7 separate regions of the Homo sapiens genome follow, and regions 2, 3, 4, 5, 6 and 7 are each linked to region 1. Evidence: promoter capture Hi-C in 16 types of primary human blood cells and fetal thymus (Javierre and others, 2016). All regions are on one chromosome and are shown on one strand. Each heading gives the region's core, a stretch centred on a gene start or on the middle of the fragment in contact. The rest is flanking DNA. Distances are from core to core; before and after follow the strand shown.

Region 1 (2,700 bases), core at 58-2,557:
ACAAACCAGTTAATTTTCCAACATGCTTTCTGCTTCCAGAATTCTAGACTGTACTGTGGTTTTCCATCCATCTCACTGACTGCTCTTTCCTGGTGTCTTTGGCTAATTCTTTGCCAATCCAGCTAAGTTTACTTGTTCCTGCTAATGTCCCTTTCACTCTGACATTTGGTACAAAATCCCTTCCCCTTTCCAGCCTCTCTTTCTGGACAGGGAACCTTGTTGCTGTCCTTTCCCTTCTCTACATTACTCTCCTGAATCTGCTCTCTTTCCTGTCCTTTCTCCACTTCAGTATCTGCTGTCACCTCTCCTGCATCTTTTCTCCACTGAATGACTCGGTTCTCTCTACCCCACCTTCCTGTCCCTTCTTACCTTAGAATGGTGACATGGCCTAAGTTACCTAAATCAGGCAATCACTGCTAGAAACAATACTAAAGTCCTGTCTCAGGTTTGCCTCCTTATCTTTGCGCTCCCACCCCCACGATGTCCAGCAAAGCATATTACACATAACTTGATTCAATTACCATTTAGTCATTTCTCCAAAGGATAAAGGCCCTTACCGCCCAGAAACCTTCAAGAAAGAAGGCAAACATAACTTCGATACAAAGTAAAATCATCAGATATGAGAATGAATACAAAACTGGCTACTGTTAGCGCCACTGTTTCCAAACCAGTTCCTGTAAGAACAATGCCTTAGTCTTGCTCATCAGACCGGGGTAATCACTGTGCCGAAACCATGACTGGCACGTAGTAGGTACTTAAACACTAGTCGGTAAAACGAACCAAAGGACACGCTAAGGAATGAACACTCTGTGCTTTGCACAGTCCGTGGCACACAGCTGCAGCTCCAAGAGGAAGCCACTGCAAAAGAAGCGCGCCCTTGGGTCCTCCCCTTCCCTCGCAGACCCCCAAACCCGGCGCGCTCCTAACCTTGGTGTCCACGTCGGCCAGGCAGTCTCTGCGGAACTGGTCGAAGAGCCCCTGGCTCTTGAGGTGGTTCACGATCATGGCCACGAGCTGCGGGTCCCCGGCGCCCGCACCCGCGCCGCCCGCCCCGCCCGCGCCGGGGCCAGCCCCGGGGCCCGGCGGCGGCGGCGGTGGCTGCGGCTGCGGCTGCGGCGGGGGAGGCGGCGGCGCCGGAGGAGGCGGCTGCGGCTGTGGGTTGGTGGCCATGGTGGCCTGTGCCGGGGAGGGCAAGGGCCCTGACCGGCGGACGATCCTGGGAGGCGGCGGCTGCACTGGTCCCGCCGCCTGAGGGAAGCCAACGGGATGTTGTTACGGAACCAGCGGATCCAGAGCAACCCCGGAAGTGAAAGGGAACTGGGGGAAAGGAGGAAAAGACGGTGACAACATTGACGAAAGTCCGGCGACGGAGGCCGCGAAGAGCCAGTTTCGACCGTCGCCGGGCGCAAGCGCCCTCGCGAGGCCGAGCTGCGCCGGAAGTGGCGGCGACTGTGGCGACGGAGACGACAAGACTGTGCTGGTCGCGGGTTGTGGGGTTTAGGTCACCGGCAGGGGTCTGGAGTCCCTGGAGGTTAGGGCTTCGACCCGCGCGACACCTGGGGCCCTAGGTCTGAGCGGGGGCAGTGCGTTTCTGGCCCCGCTTCATCCGCGACGGCATTTTAGGCCTGCCTCTCTTGCTCCAGTTTCCCGGAGCAGTGCATAGAGATCCATAGACATTTGTAATGCGAACCCTACGTGGATCTGCTCATTCTAACTTCGCCCAACCCTCTTCGTTCTTAGCCTGTGATCCTGCACTATTCTTGTCCCAGCAGGTAGCTCCAAGTTCCTTCTGTCTCTCTTCTGCCTGCACATACCATTTCCCCGTGGGGGTCCCTTGTTTCTGGCAGTGTGCCTGTGGATTAGATCCGATCCCTCCAGCCCGTTCTTCCTATCTGTGAAGACAAATCGACAGGCTTTTATTTTTAGGAGATTTGCTATTGATTACTATGATTATAGCAGGTAAAACATCTATAGCACATATTATGTACCAAGCGTGGCGTTAAGTGCTTTTACATGTATTAACGCATTTAATCTTTGGACAAACACTAAGAGCTAGGTCTGATTACTGTCCCCAGTTTGCAAATCAGGGAACCAAGGCTCAGATAAATTAAGTATGTTGAGTAAGATTACACAGCTAGCAAATCACCTGCTTTTGGACTGCATCATCTTTGAAATTATTATTAGTACGTGGTCAAAGCAACATAAATATTAGAAAATTTCATAATTACTAAATAGTGTGTGTAACTTTATTGAAAAATGCATATTGTTGCTTTTTAAAGTTCCTACATCTGTGGCTGAATATATCTTATTAGTAGGAAAAGAAGGGTTGAGCATCAATTCTATTCCTATTTGTAATTTTTATAGCTGTGTGCCCTGAGAAACCTTGTTCATATAAACAAGTACTGTGCCTAGGAATGGAAGAGTTTTGTTGTAGCAATATCATTCAATTCTTGACCTCAAAAAATTAGATTTGATTATCTATGAGCTGACTTCAATTAGGCCCTCCTTCTATTTTATGGAAAGCAAAGAGCTGAAAACCACCTGGCTTGCCAAAGGATTTGTTTACTTAATCCTTATTTTTTCACTCTTTCAGATTCTGGGAAATATACCAGATAGGTTTTACCAAGATACCAAATGACTATGAATTAGACCTGATTTTTTCAATGAGGTGTACCTTTCACCTGATATACTGAAAGTTTG
Region 2 (2,700 bases), core at 12-2,511, 2.1 Mb after region 1:
ACAGTAGTGGGACAGAAATAGGGTAACATTCATAGATGTTCCCATTCAAAAAGGGAGAAAAAGCCAAAAAGAAGACACCAGCCAATTCCTTTCAAAGTCCCATGGACAAACTGCATTAGGTTACTAAGCCTGGGAATAGCTGTGGCTCCTGCACCTGCCCTCTGTACCTGGGGCTCCACCCTCAGAGCCATCTTTTTGGATGAGGAGTACCACATGTCTGCTACTAAATAGTTTTATTAGCCCATTTCCTGCTAGTAGAATTTAGGGAACTCGGTTGCCTTCTTTCATTTCAACCACTCTGTCCGTTTTAGTCCAATTTGACAGTGTTTCTATTGGTAAACAAAACATTGTGAGTCATAGGGATTCACTCCATTGAAAGAGGCTTCTCAACAGATGTTTCCTGAATAATCCTATCTCTAGTTGGGGCTTCTGCTGAGATTGGTTGAGGGGGTTTGTGAGTCACATGCCTCTTCAAAGAGCTCTGTGTATCTGAATACTGTAATCTTTTGTGCCTCCTAAGCAGTAGCAAAAGACTACCCACACTTACAAATAGTTAAGATAATAAATTTCATATTGTGTATATTTTACCACAATTTAAAATTCAAAAACTTTTTAAAAAAAGGATGTGCAGCCATATTGTTGGCTTTCTCGCCAGAGCATGTTTTCCTTACAGTGGATCTCTTAGCTTTGGCATCTTTTGCAATCTGGATAGGCTGAGAATTACTCAAATCATCAAATCATAGTTTCATTTTCTAACAGTTCTCTCAGTTTATCCCTTTTCTCTCTCATTTTTCTAAAAGTAACAAGAAAAATCCAAGTCAGACCTTCATCACTGCTTGGAAACTTCAACTATACAAGTTCATTGCTTAAAAGTTCTGTTTTCTTACAATTATAGGACACAATTCATCTAAGCTTTCTACCACTGTATAACAAGAACCCTCTTTCCTTTAGTTTCCAAAAATATGTTTCTCAATTTCTTGTGAGCCCTCACCAGCAGCACTTTTAACATCTATATTTCTACAGTTTATGGTGTGTTAAGATTTTCTCTAGTATGATACAGGTTTTCTCTACCATGCTGTTCACTTACTTCCAAGCCCTCATAACACCCGTATTTTTACTAACAGCCTATTCGAGCATATTTAGGCCTCTTCTATCATATTCCTAAGAATTCTTCCAGTCTCTCTACAGATTATCCAAATCCAAATTACTTCCATAATTTTAGTGTTTGTTACAGCAAAGTTGTCATAATTTGGGGCCAGAAAAATCTTTATCTTGATGACTGAACTCACCTATTCTCCAATCTTGCTTTTTCTTTGGGGTGCCTTCCTTGTGGACTCTGGTCAAGATTAAACAAGAATAATAGTCCTACTCCTGGTGATTCCCAAGTTCAACCTTACAAATGAAGGGGAAAAGGGGCAGAAAGAGTGATGGTTTCAGGTACCCTAATCTGTATTTGTTTCCTATTGCTGCTTTAGCAAATTGCCACATAGTGGCTTAAAGCAACATAAATTTATTCTTCTTTGGAGTCCAATGTATACTGGGCAAAAGTCGAGGTATCAGCAGGATTCATTCCATCTGGATTATTCAGGGAAGAATGTTTCCTTACCCTTCCAAGCTTCTGAAGTCTGCCTGCGTCCCCTGTCTTATGGCTCCTTCCTGCATCTTCAGAGCCAGCAGCATAATATCTTCAAGTATCTCTCTGCTTTTGCCATCACATTATTTTCTCTGTGTCTCTGATTTACCTGACTTCCTCCTGTAAGGACTCTTAAGATGACATTGGACTCATCCAGATCAGCCAGTATAATCTGCTCATCTCAAGATCCTTAATTTAATCACATCTGCAAAGGCCTTCTTACTATGTAAAGTAACGTATTCATAGGCTCCAGGGTTTAGGACATGGACATCTTTGCTGGCCTATTTTTCAGCCTTCCACAACGGACAATAAACACACAGAACATATTAGATAAGCATTCAAAACCATCAATGAGAGCACACTATGAAACACTATTCTAAGGCCTTTAAATGCATAATCTCTCTTCATTCTCTGGCAATCAAGAATTTTGGCCAAGAAAAGAAACACAGTTTTCAATAAGGAAGCTCAGAAATTATTGATAACTCATAATGATCAAGAGAACAAAGTGAAAATGCCTTAGCATTGTGCTCAATGGTTTTAAGATATGACCCTAACTTTCCTGTCCAATCTCCATCTGCAACCTGTTTACCAATCAAACTAAATTTTCAACTGTTTTCAGAAGCTCCATGGTTTTTCCTTTTCTGCCTTTGCTCAGGCAATTCGTTCCATCTGAAATCTCTTTTCCGCCAACTGTGTATATCAGCATACTACTATTTCTTCTAGAAATTTATGTAAGTGGAGTAATAAAGTTTGTGTTCTTTTACATCTAGCTTCTTTCATTCAGCATATTTTTAAAAGATTTGTCATTTTTTTGTATTGCTAAATAATACTCTATTATATGATGATGTTACAAGTTATTAATATATTGTTGTTGGACATTTGCATTGTTTACTGTTTTGAGTTACGAATTAAGCTTCTACAAACATGGGCACAAATCTTTGCATAGATGTATTTTCATTTTTCCTTTGGTAAATACCTAGGAATGGAATATCTTCTTTGGTGAGGCATTTGTTTAACTATTTTGCCAATTTTAAGATGTGGTTGTTTTTCTTATTTTTGAGTTTGTT
Region 3 (2,700 bases), core at 95-2,594, 2.2 Mb after region 1:
TGAGTGGCCTGTTTCACTTGGTGTCAGCTGGGGGTGTAGGCATCTGCAACATTGTCTTGGCAGGAACATCCAAGATGTCCCACTTAACACGATGGCTCCTGGGCTCAGCTGGGCTGGTCAGGCCTCCCTTCCTCTCTGTGTTGCCACACGGCCTCTCTCTATCCATGTGGCCTCTCCATATGGTCTCTCCCTGGTGGAGGTGAATTTCTTCAAGGTTTCTAAACTCTCAAAAGTGGAGCCTGGCAAGCCCACTCAAAGCTTCAGATCCACAACTGGCACAGCTTCCCTTCCACAGATTCTATAGGTTAAAACAATCACCGGACCAGCCCAGATTCAAAAGAAGGAGAAACAAACTCCACCCCTCCATGGAGGAAGTAGCAAAAATAATGTAGACAGTTTTTACCCTTTACATCTGGATTTGTTAGCTTTTCTGTTTTCATTTTCTTCTGGTCTTTCTTTTGTCCTTCTCTTACACTTATTTTATTACCTTTTATCAATTAGCTTTTAAGATGATAAAAATCTAATACATGCCTCCTGGAATGTCTTCTTGAGCCTAGGGACTTTTGTTTAATGATATATCTTGAGGACCTAGAATAGTGCCTGAAATACAATAGTCATTAAATATTTAGCTGAATTAAATGAATGGTATATAAGCCAGGGTATTAAAAATAACATAAACAAAGTTGTAATAAATATACTTCCCCAGTGAACGACCTAATACCATTACTCCCCAAACCCTCAATTTCTGTCTTGAGCATAGAAACTGTTAATTTTTCCTTTGTGTAGTAGGTCCTTAGTATTTCTTTAGAGGTTGTAGCACTTTATCTTCCTCACTGTTCCTTTTCCTTGGTTGTCCTTTTCCAAACATCTCTCAACAATTTCTCCCAAGTCCATCTTGCCTGCACTAACAGTCTCCTTTAGAACTCCCCTCTCCTGCCTGTCACACAGTCTTAGTAATAGTGCCACAGTATAGTAGTAAGGGTCTCCAGAGAAACTCACTTTCTGCAAGTTTTTTAGTGTGGGTAGGTGAGTATTGAAGCTTGTTCTTGGCGTTACCAGGTTGGTTCTTTGAGTTGAACCAGGGGCATTACATGCGGAATATTCCTGAACAGATCACCTCTGGTTCTGCTGTCTCAAGGGCCACACACAAGAGCTGCCTTCTGACCAAGATGTCTCTGGGCACATGAGACCTGAAATACACATGGCCAAGACTCAACAAAGCGTTTGCTGACTGTCAGAGCTGACAGCATCTCGGTACTGTGGGAGGGAGCCCAGTGTCTGGTGATAGTCAGGACGGACCCAGGTGATGTCAGGGGTGGGGTGGGGCCTGCAGGAGGGAATGGAGAGCCAGCACCTAGGGGAAGCTGGGAATTTAGGAAGATATCCAGAGAGTGTAACTTCAGTTCCACTAATCTCACCTGGGTGAAAACCAGCCCTCTCCATGGATGATGGTGATTGCAGGTACTGACGATAGCTGCAGACTGCTGGTGGTCTAGGCAAGCATGCAGGGATGGGAGCAGGCATTTCTGAGAGCTCCCCTTATCCCTGCCCCAAGACAAGGTGGGGGCCCTGTGGGGAAGGACTATTTTATTCACTTCTGCATCTCCAGTTGTCTAACACATTGCTTATCACCTAACAGTCTCTTAATAGAAGCTTGCTATATTGAGCTGCCTTGAGTCCACATCATGCTGGTTGAACATAAGTAGAAATTGTGGGAGACTTAATCAGAGAAAATCTTTCATCTGTCTTACCTTACGTTCTAATGATCACTTCTGTGCCCACAAGGACCATCTTTTCTGATTCATGTTCATGTCGATTTCTTTTTTATTTAACTTCCTCTTCAAAATTTCTGGCAGGATTTCTTGGGAGCCAATTCTCCATTTTTACTTCCCCATGCCTCCCATTTTAATGACTGTAGGATTTTCTCAGGGTCTACTCAGCAAAACTTGTTAGTACAACATGAGCAAAACAGCAAATTTATGCAAACACTTAGCAAAGACTTAGCTGTCTGCCTAATGCTAGGGTGAGACATGGGAGATTCACAAATGAAGAAACACAAGCATTGATCTCCAGGATCCTGCAGTGGGAGGTATGCGGAGGACCAACCTGGGAACAGAGCAACGCAACACCATGTGATCTGTAATGAAAAAGAGGCCTGTACACAGCCAAGAGGTCACTGAGGAAGGAGCCATTGCTTCTGTGCAGTTAGTGCTGCGCTAGATTCTGCAGGGATGTAAGAAATGTACCCCTATCAAACAAGAAAGACTATGTGAATTGCTGAATATGTGAGTGGAGTACCAGCACAATGCCATGGAGATGCAGACGTGCCCCATGTGGTGGGGCAGAGTCAGGAAGCACTTTAAGAAAGAAATAGCATTTCAGGTCTTCCTTTAAAGGTAGAATTTCAACAAGAGGGTGCTCTGGAGAGTGTGTGTTACCCTGCTGAGAAAATCCTGGCGGTCAGGTAAGATGCTACTGCCAGGGAAGATTGGCCAATTGATTGACTAAACCCTTAAAGGTTTGGGGATCTTGGGGAGGATTCTGCTGGTGAGAGGGTCTGGACTTCCTCTTGGTCTGTCCACAGCTGGACCTTCTCAGCACACAAGAGACTATGAGGGTGACCATTTTGCACAGGACAGAATTCCAGCATGTTTTTCCCCTGGAGTGATGGAATGACCACCTGCTCAACATCAGTGTCCT
Region 4 (2,711 bases), core at 106-2,605, 2.2 Mb before region 1:
GTGTGGTAGTGTATGCCTGCAATCCCAGGTACTTGGGAGGCTGAGGCAGGATAATTGCTTAAACCCAGGAGGCAGAGGTTTCAGTGAGCCGGGATCCAGCCTGGGCAACAGAGCAAGACTCCATCTCCAAAAAAAAAAAAAAAAATTCCAAGAAGTCACAGGTGAGGAAGCCATAAGACAACATCCTTTTTCTCTGTGAGAGAAAAAAAAAAGTGACTTTTAAAGTGCACTGAGTCTGCTGAGTACTTGTGAATAATTTCAGAACTGAGACCCTATAGCACTCTTGGAGCTGCTGAGCCAGCTGCCATCCCCGCACCCCACCTCACCAACTCCCTGGCTTCCCCCACTTGTGCCAGCACTGCCAGGTGGCACTCAGAGAGCCTCCAGGGGTGTGTCTCCGGACCTGCCATTACCTACAGGAAGGGGCTTACATAGACCAGGGAAAGCCAACCCTGCCTTTTCAAAGGAACTTCATGCAGCCTGGGGACTTTTTTGACTTCTGTGAATTGTATCATCAGCTTTCCTGGTTCTCAGGGGATAACTATCTATCTTCTACAGAAAAATCTTTCTTTTCTATAGAGAGAACAATGCTTTCTCTCTCTCTCTCTCTCTCTCTCTCTCTCTCTCTCTATATATATATATATATATACGTATATATATATATGTATATATATATATACGTATATATATATATATATATATATACGTATATATATATGTATATATATATATATACGTATATATATATATATGTATATATGTATATATATCTTTATATAGAGAGAGGTAGATACTTATTATATATATAATCCCTCTTTACATGTTCCTCAGTTGGGCCCTGAGCACTACAGCTTGTCTCCTTTATCTGGAAGCTGATTGCATGCCTCCCCTCTCTCCCTGGCACAGCAGCTGGGAGCAACTTGCACATGACCAGGCTTTATCATTTTACATTGGAAATAATATGTTTCCATCCAGGATTTCAGTGAAGCTTCATGTTCAATCTTTTGGGAAGTCAGGACAGGGGGAAATGTTGTTAGTTTTTTCTTAACCAGAAGAACATAGAAGCCAGAAGAGACAGTACTAAGCTATTGTCCCCTAAACCAGTTTCTGGTGGAGAAAAGTGAGGCTCAGGGAGGTAAAAGTGTCTGCCTCAGTTGGTTCATCAGCGCCAGTGGCAGTGCTCTAAGGAGACGCCAGGCCTCCGGTAACCACTCAGTGTCAGAAGTTCAGGCAGCAACAGGTGCATGAGGAAGGAGTGGGGACATTCCAGAAATGCAGCTGTCAGGAATTTTTTAAATTGTTTTCCTTTCCTCTTGGGCCAATCATTGGGTATTTACATTCACTGTGGTCACCTGAGCCAGGTACCGCAATTGCATGTCCTGGAGTAGAAACTGATGTGATACCCAAGACTAACACTTAGTTCCTTCTTTGCCTTTAAGTACTAAGTGGATCTGTGATTTTAGGCAAGTGATTGTCCCTTTCTGGGCCTGTGGTTTTTTTGTTTGTTTTACTTTTTTGTTTTTTAATTATCATGACCAAAAGTCTTTTATTATTAACAACAATTGCACACTTTTTGTTGGGAAAAAAGGTATACAAATTATAAAACAGTTAACAATGTTTCCTTAAGGAGAGAAGTGTTAATGCTCTTCTCTAATTATGCTTTTAATGGTATTTTGTTCTATTTTTTTATTTTCAATAGCTTCTTTATTTCCCTTGGGATATTGAAGCTTTACTTAATCTTATTCTTTCTAAGTAGGGTAGAGAATTCCTGTTTCAAGTCTCCACAAAACAAAATCCCTTTTCTTGACATAGTAGAAAGGACAGGTGCTTGGATGTTTGGTTGGCAGGGGAAAGGAAAGAGTCCAGGTGCTACTGATAGAAATATTCAACCAAATCCTCCAGTTTTCGACTCCACCACTCACTGTGGTGCCTTCCTCAAGACCTTGGAGCTCCAAGTCTCTGAAGAATATTTCAGGCAATGAGAGGAGTCCCTGACTAAGGTAAAACCCTCCTCTCTGTCTCTTTCTGTGTGCGTGTATATGTATGTATATGTATATGTATATGTATATGTATATACATATACATATTCTATTGCTGCTTCCTCCTTAAACTCCACTAGAATAACAATGAAAGGTATTTAACATATTAATCCACCAATGTGAATAGTTGAGAGATGCCAACAATTTGAAAGATGGAAAAGAGGTCTGCAAATGCTCATTGTCGTAGCACAGCTGAGAAAGCTCACTGAGGCGCTGAGAGTGAGATGCGAAGGGACGGCCAGTGCAACACGGGCCTGTGTGTTTTTATGGACAGTATGAAGGTATTGAAACTGATCAGTAGTCTTCAAACATTTTCTTTCTTTCTTTTTTTTTTTTTCTTTTAGCAGGGAGATCTATTTCTCAAGTGAAAGGTAACTGAAACTGTCATGCATGAAACAAGCCCAAGCAAGCAGCTGCAGTTGCATGGTCAGCTGAGCCAAGGGCAGAGAGATGAGCCAGATGGGCTTCCCGCCCCTGGAGGGAGCCCCCATCCCCAGAGGGCAGACTCTGACACTCCTTCCCAGGTTCTTGGGGCATCACCAAAAAGAGTGGAAATCCCTACATGTTTTATCTCCAAGGGTCTCTAACCTTCTGTAACACTGCTCTGTGAATGCAATGAGACCATGTAAGAAAAGCACTGAGTAAAACCAAGAGCCTCATGTTTTGTTGCTA
Region 5 (2,700 bases), core at 195-2,694, 2.6 Mb after region 1:
GTACCATTCTTCCCATCTTTCCTCCCTTCAATGCTAACTCCACCTGGCAGCCAGTCAGCAGCTCACACAGATCAGATATGGTTCTGCTGAAACCCTTCAGTGGTTCTTCATTACCTCCAGAATAAAGTCCTACCTTCTCAGTGCGGGCCATCCCAGAACCTCTACAACTGGACACAGGCCATCTCTTTAGTCATGCTTCACACCTGCCTCCCCTGAATCTCTAGGTCACAATTTTCTTTTTATACTACTTTTCATTTCTCCCAAACACGTCAATGGGTTCACACTGCTCCTTGGTCTGAGAATCCCCTACCAATTTTCCAGGAGTGAACATGCCCAGACGGTACCCTCTCTGTGAAGACTTCCCTAAGTTTCTCAGGCAGAGTCTGTCCTTTCCCCTACTCGGCTTCCACAGTACCTGCACCTGCCTATGATTTTCTGCAGTATACTACATTCATTTTCTTGTCTGGTTTTCTCATTCACCTTTGCATCACTGGGACCCAGCACATAACAGGTACTCAACAAATCTTTGCTAAAACAATATACAGGTCAGAGGAGAAGAAGAAAAATCATAGAGAACAAAAACAGAATCAGACAGTGAGAAGCTAAAAATGAAATGGAAAGGGAAGTGACTAAGAAAAGAAAGAATTAGACATAAAACGGAGTGGCCAAATTAGTCTCTTTAGGAGTCAGGCAGCAAAGAACAGAACCGACAAAGAATTGAGGAAGTGATGTGAACAGCAAACTGAGCTAAACTTTCATGTGGGTGATTTGTCCCTTCTGATATGATAATTTCTGGTATTTTCTCATTTTTCTTTACCGCTGAATTTCTCTATTGAAAGATGATCTATATGAAAACAAAACTGGAATTAATCAAAATGTTCAATAGTAATGGAATTGCTTAATAAATAACAACGTACCAATATAAAACAAAAATCAGACATGACAAAAGAAGAGCATTCCAGATACTTGAGAAAAGAACTTGTGATTGTGACAGAATTGTTCTGAGACTTGGGGAGTTAGCAGGGAAGGAGTGAAAAGCTTCACTCAAGGTAGCAGCTGCTGCTGATTCAGGAGCCTCTACTCTGTATGTGTAGCTAAGTGACTGTAAAGGTAACCCAACGGGTACCTGAACCTCAAACCCCCTGAGGGAACAGGGTACCATGATGCAGTCACAGCCAGTGAGTGCCCTGGGTTTGGGAATAAGGAGATCCTCATTGTCCACACTAAGTGCAAGGAAAGAAATTACGCAGCCCACAAGAATGCCATCTGGGTTAAAGAGATACAGAAACACATTACTGCACAATCATTTTCAATTTTAAAAAGCAAATTAAATAAAAAGGTTTATTTGGGGCCGGGCATAGTGGCTCACGCCCGTAATCCCATCAATTTTGGGAGGCCAAGGTGGGAGGATCACCTGAGGTCAGGAGTTTGAGACCAGCCTGTCCAAAATGGCGAAACCCCGTCTCTACTAAAAATACAAAAAATTAGCCAGGTGTGGTGGCAGGTGCCTGTAATCCCAGCTACTTGGGAGGCTGAGGCAGGAGAATCACTTGAAACCCAGAGGCAGAGGCTGCAGTGAGCCGAGATCGTGTACTGTACTCCAGCCTGGGTGACAAGAGTGAAACTCCATCTCAAGAAAAAGAGGTTTATTTGGAAAATTATTCTCCACAATGGTGTCTTCTCTGGTGACTGGAGATGACAGCTTTGACCATAATGAGAGTTGTGTTATGATCCACAGAAGAGCATGGGATTAGCAACCAGAGGAAGGCTGTCCTGGTACCAGCTGTCTTAAACATTAGTCCTGTGACCCTGCTCCAGTCACAGATGTCAATTTCACCGAAAAGAAAATGGAAGCTTAGAGCAGTTTTTTAATACCTGTCAGCTGTTTGCCTTATCCACAGAATCATCAAAGGACTAAGACAGTATTTGTATGAAAGTATATAAAAACTGCAAAGCATGACGCAGTGTCTTCAACTACTTCATATTAACTTCACAAGTACTGTAGTATTAATCAGTTCTGGTTTGGTGGTTATCTAATGTTTATTTCTGCAATCCTAGCTCTATCATTAAAAGGTAATATGACAAATAAGTATATTTAACAACATATATCATCTAAGTAATTTTCTGTAAACATGTTATCATACAACATAAATACTGAGTGTTTTAATTACAAGTACAAAACAATACAATGTCTGGATTCTACCTCTAGATATCCAAGAATTTTAATTATAAACACTAGTTTAGATTCTACAATGGAGAATATAAAAAGTCAAATAAAAACATAACCTATTTTGAGTGTACAGCTCTCACAACTATGAAACAGGTTCTACTGTTATGCCCATTTTGCAGATGAAGAAACCAAGGCCCAGAGAGGCTAAGGAGATCTCCAAGGTCACACAGGAAGCAAGCAGAAAAGCCAGAATTCAAAGTCAAGCAGTCTATGGCTAGAGAGTGTGCTTTTCACCATTAGATAGCTTTGCCTATTATTGCCTCAAGTGCCTTTGTAAACAGGCCACTGTGTTACTTCTGGAAAATTAGGAGCCCTCTGTCCCTCCCCTTTACCTGTGCTCCCACTGCAGCTTGGGCTGACTTCTGTGAAGCTACACTCTTTACTAGTTGCTCCCTTACAAGACCATGAACTTTCTAAGAGCAGGCCCCATGTATCCCTATATTCTCGAAGTCCAGCCCTGCCGGTGAGTT
Region 6 (2,700 bases), core at 69-2,568, 2.1 Mb after region 1:
TATGGTTACTGTGACAATTGAATCTCATCATAAGTTTGGAGGGAACATTCAAACCATAGGAACCTAGGATGTGGTATTGCTCTGGAATGGTGGTCACCTTCAGGGGTGTTTACTTCATCTTTCCTACTATAAAGGCTCTTACTCCACAGGTCAAAAAACAAATGTGAGAGGGGGCTAGGGACATGATCACAGCATGGGTGCTGATAAACTTAGTTCTGGAGTCCATTTGTCATCTAGCCTCAGTAAGTCCTTATTTAACTGAGGGGGCCCATGATTGTGTTTTGGGTCTTGTAGCAGTGACAGCTCAGACTCTGTGATCAAGCCATCAGAAGATCTGAGTATTCCATTCCTCCAAATGCACAGGAACTCCAACAAATGGGTATGGGTCCCTTTGGGGAAGGGTTGGGAGAATCACTATGTTATATGCTTGCTGTGGCTTACAGGACTTCCTCTCCCTTAAGTGATTAAATCTGGGCCTGAGGTTCCAGACACCAGTCTGGGAACTGGGTATCAGACTGTGATCGTCCATTGTGGTAGCTGACATCATCAACATTTGGCTCTCTTGCTCCTGATCACTTTTGATTGTAAAGGTCAAGCAATATCCTTATCAACTGCACATCTAAGAGCTCTTAGGAACCATGGGATATATTAACCACAGTCTCAGATTCGTGCCTGTCAGGCCCCTGTTTGCCATGCTGCCTTTATGCCATTATAGTAGTCATGGCTGCCTTGCTGCCACCAAGCCTCCACTATTCTGGAATCCTATTTTGCTTCTTGGTACTAGGAATCCCAGTCCCATAATGATATCACTACCATCAATCCTGGCCTTCAGAATATAAACCACTTCGGAGTTTTTCCGTGAAGCCAGTACCCCCATCACCATCACATTCTTTACTGTTTTAATGAAGACTGTCTTCTTGGACTCTCTTGGAAACATTGTCAGCGAGCTGTGTTATTCTATGTCATTCTTTGGAGTAAGCTTATCTCCCTGAGCCAAAGCACAGTAGTAAATAAATCTTATCTAGTTTTTAAAAACATTTATTTATTTATTTATTAGAGACAAGTTCCTACCTTCTCCCAGGCTGGAGCACAGTGGTCCCATCATGGCTCACTGCAGCCTCAAATTCTTAGGCTCATGTGATCTTCCTTCCTCAGTCTCCTGAGTAGCTAGGACTACAGGCACAAGTCACCATGCCCAGCTAATATTTTAAATTCTTATTTTTTGTAGAGATGTGGTCTTGCTATGTTGCCAAGGCTGGTCTCGAATTCCTGGCCTCAAGCAATCCTTCTTCCTTGGCCTCCTAAAGTGTTGGGATTACAGGCATGAGCCACTGTGTCCAGCCAACCTTATCTCATTTATTTCAGGCCTTCTTTTCTCCAGATTTCAATGAGCCATTCCTACAGTTGTATTAGGACCAGCTCTAAGTGCCTTGCCAGGTCATTAAACTTTGACTCATGAGAGAGTACCCTTTTATCAACTCATTCTTTCTTATCCAGCCTTGTATATTACGTACCACCATTATCAGTCCAACACCATTCTCATGCGTGCTTTCCCAATTCCTGACATATATTTAGGCAGATCCTACAATTCTTTTGGTTAACAATCCCTTTTCTCCAAAATAAGGGACAGTATTTCCCAGGAGCATGGTGCCGATACTGAAGCTTAGTTATTTGTCTAGAAGCAGTGAAGGGAGACAGGTTCTGAAGAGGCAAGCACCCTCTTGCAATGCAAGGCTGTGCACAGTTTCCAGGCAAAGGGAGCTGCTATCCTTCAGTAAGAGGGGGAGAAAGCGACTCCTGCCAACTCTCTGGGGGGTCATGGGAATCTAGGGGTTCAAGGTGTGCCATTTCATAGGCAAAGATGTCCCCATCCCATCTCAGGGTCTTACTCTCTCCCCACAAAGGCCTTGACTTTAATGAAGGATATCTGCCAGGGCTGGGAATAGAGACCAAAGTTTCTTGATTATTCTGCTGTGATCATAATGAACATGCTGTGCTTGTAGGATTTTCGCACAGTCTGCCCTCTGGCTGCAGGGGGTGAGGGGCTCCTTCAATGTTGAGGGCCATTGAGGTCTTCTGACTTCACACTACACCCGAGTTGATAGTTGGTAGTTGATCTGATCCTGTTGTTTTCTTCCCTTAGCACATGATGGTAGTGGAAAGCAACAGCTAATTCCACATTCCTTATGATTACCATTTTATGACATCTCTCAGTTGCTATAATAGCGTGTAAGTCAGTGCATCTCTTTCTCTTTCTTCCATCATAGCTCACTTCATGCAAGAGTCGCAGTAATTGAAATGCCACAGCACACCAGAGGAAGGGAGGATGAGACGAGGGAGGGAAGCAGCCCATAAAGGACACATTACCAAGCAAGTTGTCACTGAGGGCAACTGGAGCTTAATCCTGCGGGGACCTTTGGCTGACAGTGTAGCAAATTTCTCAGAGTTAATTAATCAAAGACATGGGGAAGCTGAGGTGTCTATCCTTCATTCCTGCCAGTCATTGGTTGAGGGCACTCCCAGGAAGGATATTAATTCCTGACACTTCCAGGCTGCCCCGTGTGGGGGCAGAACAGGTATTGGAAGTCAGAGAAGGCTCTCAGGCAGTCACAGGTGCTTCCCATTGGAAGTTGAGAGGATGGGTCCAGAAACGGTCATTGCCAAGATGAATAAGCACGAGACACCAGCACTTTCTGCTAC
Region 7 (2,700 bases), core at 32-2,531, 2.6 Mb after region 1:
TCTTTTCAGTATACACCCATGGTTCATGCATCTACAACTGCACACCACACTGCGTTGTAACTGTTTTTTAATGCATTACTCCCCCTGTCAGCTCTCGATCCCATATTTGTAGGAACTGTGTCCCCATATCTGTATTTTGGTTGCATCCAGTTGAAAGACAGGGCATGGTAGAATAGAAATAACATGCACCTTATAAACTGATGCAGGTTAAATCCAAACTGCTCCTTACTTGCTGTGGGGACTGGGGCAAGTTACTTCTTTGAGCTTCTTTAAAACAACAATAGTAATACCTGCTATGCAGGATTGTTGTGAAGATTAAATAAGCTGCATTCATTAGTTCAACAAATATATGGAGACGTCCTATTACATGTCAGTAATTGCAAGTGTAACTGTACTTGCTATTAAGAATATAAAGGTGAATAAGTCATGACTTTATCCTAAGAACTTTATAATGTGGTAGTAGAGAAAGACTAGGAAATAGACAGTTGCAACATAATTCTTAAAGGATGAGTAAGGATTCACTAGCACAGGAGTTATCAGGTTTAGGTTGAAAGCAGCAGGATCTGAGGTAGAAGGAGAACTGTGTGCAATGCCTTTAAGCCAGGGAGAGGATGGGAAGTCTAAGGCACAGAGGGAGGTGTAATGTAGCTGTGATGTGATGGTGGGGTTAGGCTGCAAATACAAATATTACAAGGGGCCTTGCAAGCTAGGCACAGGGCAGAGGGAATGTGTGAAGAGTAGATGATTAGATTTGCACTTCAGGAAGATCTCTTTCCTTGCTGGCATGTGGAATAGTTTGGGGGAGTCAAGAGAATCACTATGACCAGTGAAGAGACTGTAGCCCAGAAGTGTTAATGGCCTTAACAGCAGGAGTTACAGTGGAAATGGGGTGGAGAGAATGCATTGAGAGATAATTAGGTGCCAGAAAAGGCAGCAAGTGATATGGTGTACAGGTGGGGGAAAAGTGCGTAAGGAAGAGAGAGGAGATTTCGGGGAAAATGTACAGAATTTTGACTTGAGGATGACGGTGCTATTCTCAGAGATAGGAAATGCAAGAGAAGCAGTTTAGGGTATAGGTAGGGAATGGAAAGTGAGTCCAGTGTGGAAATTGTGGAATTTGAAGTACCCAGAGGGAGCGCAGGACATTTTGACATCATTTTGAGCTCTTGTATGTTTTGACCCTGCTGTTTTTTTTGTTCTTGAATATAAACATTGCCGTCAAGATGATATCAACACTGATGAATTTTGTGGTAAAGATTTATTCCAGGGTTAACTTCGTTAAGCTAGTTTAATTTATTGACCTATTTCCTATATTGCAAATTTAATCTTTTCCAATTTGTTCCCTCCTGTATTGTTTTACTAGCACTGTTTCCATCAGGACAAAATCTTTCTTGTGTACATTTTACAATGAATACTTGATTTATCAACCTCTTTATCATCATCTTTTTCAAATTTTTACAGATACAACTTTTCCATGATAAATGTCGTTTTAGCTCTACTATTTTTACCATGTCAAATTTTGGACAACTACTCTTTTTGATTTTTCATTAATTTGTGAGCAATAATAACTTTTTACCATTTTCTGTTTTTGCTATTTTCAGTTGTATTTTACCTTTTTTTTTGTAACCAGCGAAATAGTTTCATGAGACAATTTTTTCAACTTTAAAAATTACCAATGATCTGTGATTCTCAAGTCAGCTTTTCATCTATAACAAATTTTGCTGTGTATCATTTTGGCCCTTGTCGGTTTCATTTTGGTCCTTAAAACCAAAACTGCCTCAGAATCTAAATGGCATTCTTCTGCCTATGGAAGAGCCAAGGATAGAAGTCCAGAACATAGGTACATGTATATAGGTATGGCGATTTGAAGAGAAGTCTAGGATGAAATGTAGATTTGTAAGCATTTGCATCTGGGTATGGGGGCAAGAGAGTGGATGACATCTCACCAGAGGGTGTATAGCGTAAGAGAAGAGCACCCCAAAAAACTAGGAGAAAGAATCCAGGAAGGAGCGGTAGAAGGTAGGGAGAAACTCACAAGACGGCATTCTTGTGGAAGTCAAGTCAAGAAAGAGGAAGTGGTCAACAATGTTGGATGCTGCAAAGAGGATGCATACTGAAATGTGTGGATTTTGCAACAATAACATCACCCTGTCGTCACTGAAGGCAACCTCATGAACGGAGAAAGATATGCAGCTGGGTATACAGAAGAGGAGCAAGAAGGAAGCGAAGATGTGGAGACAATTACAAGGACAACACTGGGCTGCAAGAAGAAAAATTTGCTTATTGATTGGCTGGTTTGTTTCCTTTTAGTACGGAGAGACTTAAGCATGGTTAGGTGCCGATGGGTTAGAGAGGAGAGGATGAATGTACAGGAGAGTTGGAACAGGATCCCCAAGAAGAAAATTAAGATCCCAGTCCTTTCCAGGGGTAGAATTTAGCATTGCTGCCTAAATCTCCATATCTAATGATTCCTCTGCAGCCGTGCCCAAGACAGAACCATCCTCAATCTGGCCCATCCATTTGGGCTTTTACTTTGGGTTCCCCATTAAACCCCTAATTCCTTCCTGGGCCCAGAACTTTCTCCAGAGCTGCTATCACTTGCTTTCATATCTCAGTCAAGGGGATCTTACTGCCCTTAACCCCACAGTACTATCACTTGCCATGACGCTTGAATATTACTGCTTTTGAGAAAGTCTTGCT

What was found. Contacts are between HindIII fragments. The CHiCAGO score rates a contact against its expected background, and 5 or more counts as called.
Region 2: a fragment that was not itself captured here is called in contact with the fragment with the promoter of BOD1L1 in region 1 in 2 of 17 cell types (total CD4 T cells and naive CD8 T cells); the score reaches 6.5 in total CD4 T cells.
Region 3: a fragment that was not itself captured here is called in contact with the fragment with the promoter of BOD1L1 in region 1 in 2 of 17 cell types (non-activated CD4 T cells and fetal thymus); the score reaches 5.2 in non-activated CD4 T cells.
Region 4: a contact is called between a fragment that was not itself captured here and the fragment with the promoter of BOD1L1 in region 1, in 1 of 17 cell types (non-activated CD4 T cells). The highest score is 7.0, in non-activated CD4 T cells.
Region 5: a fragment that was not itself captured here is called in contact with the fragment with the promoter of BOD1L1 in region 1 in 1 of 17 cell types (non-activated CD4 T cells); the score reaches 7.0 in non-activated CD4 T cells.
Region 6: a contact is called between a fragment that was not itself captured here and the fragment with the promoter of BOD1L1 in region 1, in 2 of 17 cell types (total CD4 T cells and naive CD8 T cells). The highest score is 6.6, in total CD4 T cells.
Region 7: a contact is called between a fragment that was not itself captured here and the fragment with the promoter of BOD1L1 in region 1, in 1 of 17 cell types (activated CD4 T cells). The highest score is 5.0, in activated CD4 T cells.

What each region holds. Positions count from the first base shown.
Region 1 is chr4:13,626,418-13,629,117 of GRCh38, forward strand. BOD1L1 (biorientation of chromosomes in cell division 1 like 1) reads right to left here and starts at 1,308. Exons shown (of 26, transcript NM_148894.3): 1 at 928-1,308. The coding sequence starts at 1,170. MIR5091 (microRNA 5091) reads left to right here and starts at 1,448; the gene lies at 1,448-1,540. RefSeq lists enhancers at 737-1,467, 1,305-1,464, 1,468-2,198 and a silencer at 965-1,164. The HindIII fragment of the contact is 7,220 bases long and covers 1-2,700 here.
Region 2 is chr4:15,691,245-15,693,944 of GRCh38, forward strand. No RefSeq gene overlaps it. Among named protein-coding and RNA genes, the nearest start is that of BST1, 10 kb to the right of the region's middle. The HindIII fragment of the contact is 703 bases long and covers 911-1,613 here.
Region 3 is chr4:15,781,942-15,784,641 of GRCh38, forward strand. All of the region lies in intron 1 of CD38 (CD38 molecule), which reads left to right. Among named protein-coding and RNA genes, the nearest start is that of CD38, 5.0 kb to the left of the region's middle. The HindIII fragment of the contact is 614 bases long and covers 1,038-1,651 here.
Region 4 is chr4:11,467,832-11,470,542 of GRCh38, forward strand. No RefSeq gene overlaps it. Among named protein-coding and RNA genes, the nearest start is that of HS3ST1, 40 kb to the left of the region's middle. RefSeq lists an enhancer at 2,351-2,540. The HindIII fragment of the contact is 739 bases long and covers 987-1,725 here.
Region 5 is chr4:16,216,772-16,219,471 of GRCh38, forward strand. The region is part of intron 1 of TAPT1 (transmembrane anterior posterior transformation 1); the gene reads right to left. Among named protein-coding and RNA genes, the nearest start is that of TAPT1, 8.3 kb to the right of the region's middle. The HindIII fragment of the contact is 816 bases long and covers 1,037-1,852 here.
Region 6 is chr4:15,746,634-15,749,333 of GRCh38, forward strand. It overlaps a transcript of BST1 not described here. Among named protein-coding and RNA genes, the nearest start is that of CD38, 30 kb to the right of the region's middle. The HindIII fragment of the contact is 683 bases long and covers 978-1,660 here.
Region 7 is chr4:16,235,789-16,238,488 of GRCh38, forward strand. The region is part of intron 1 of TAPT1-AS1 (TAPT1 antisense RNA 1); the gene reads left to right. Among named protein-coding and RNA genes, the nearest start is that of TAPT1-AS1, 10 kb to the left of the region's middle. The HindIII fragment of the contact is 2,892 bases long and covers 1-2,700 here.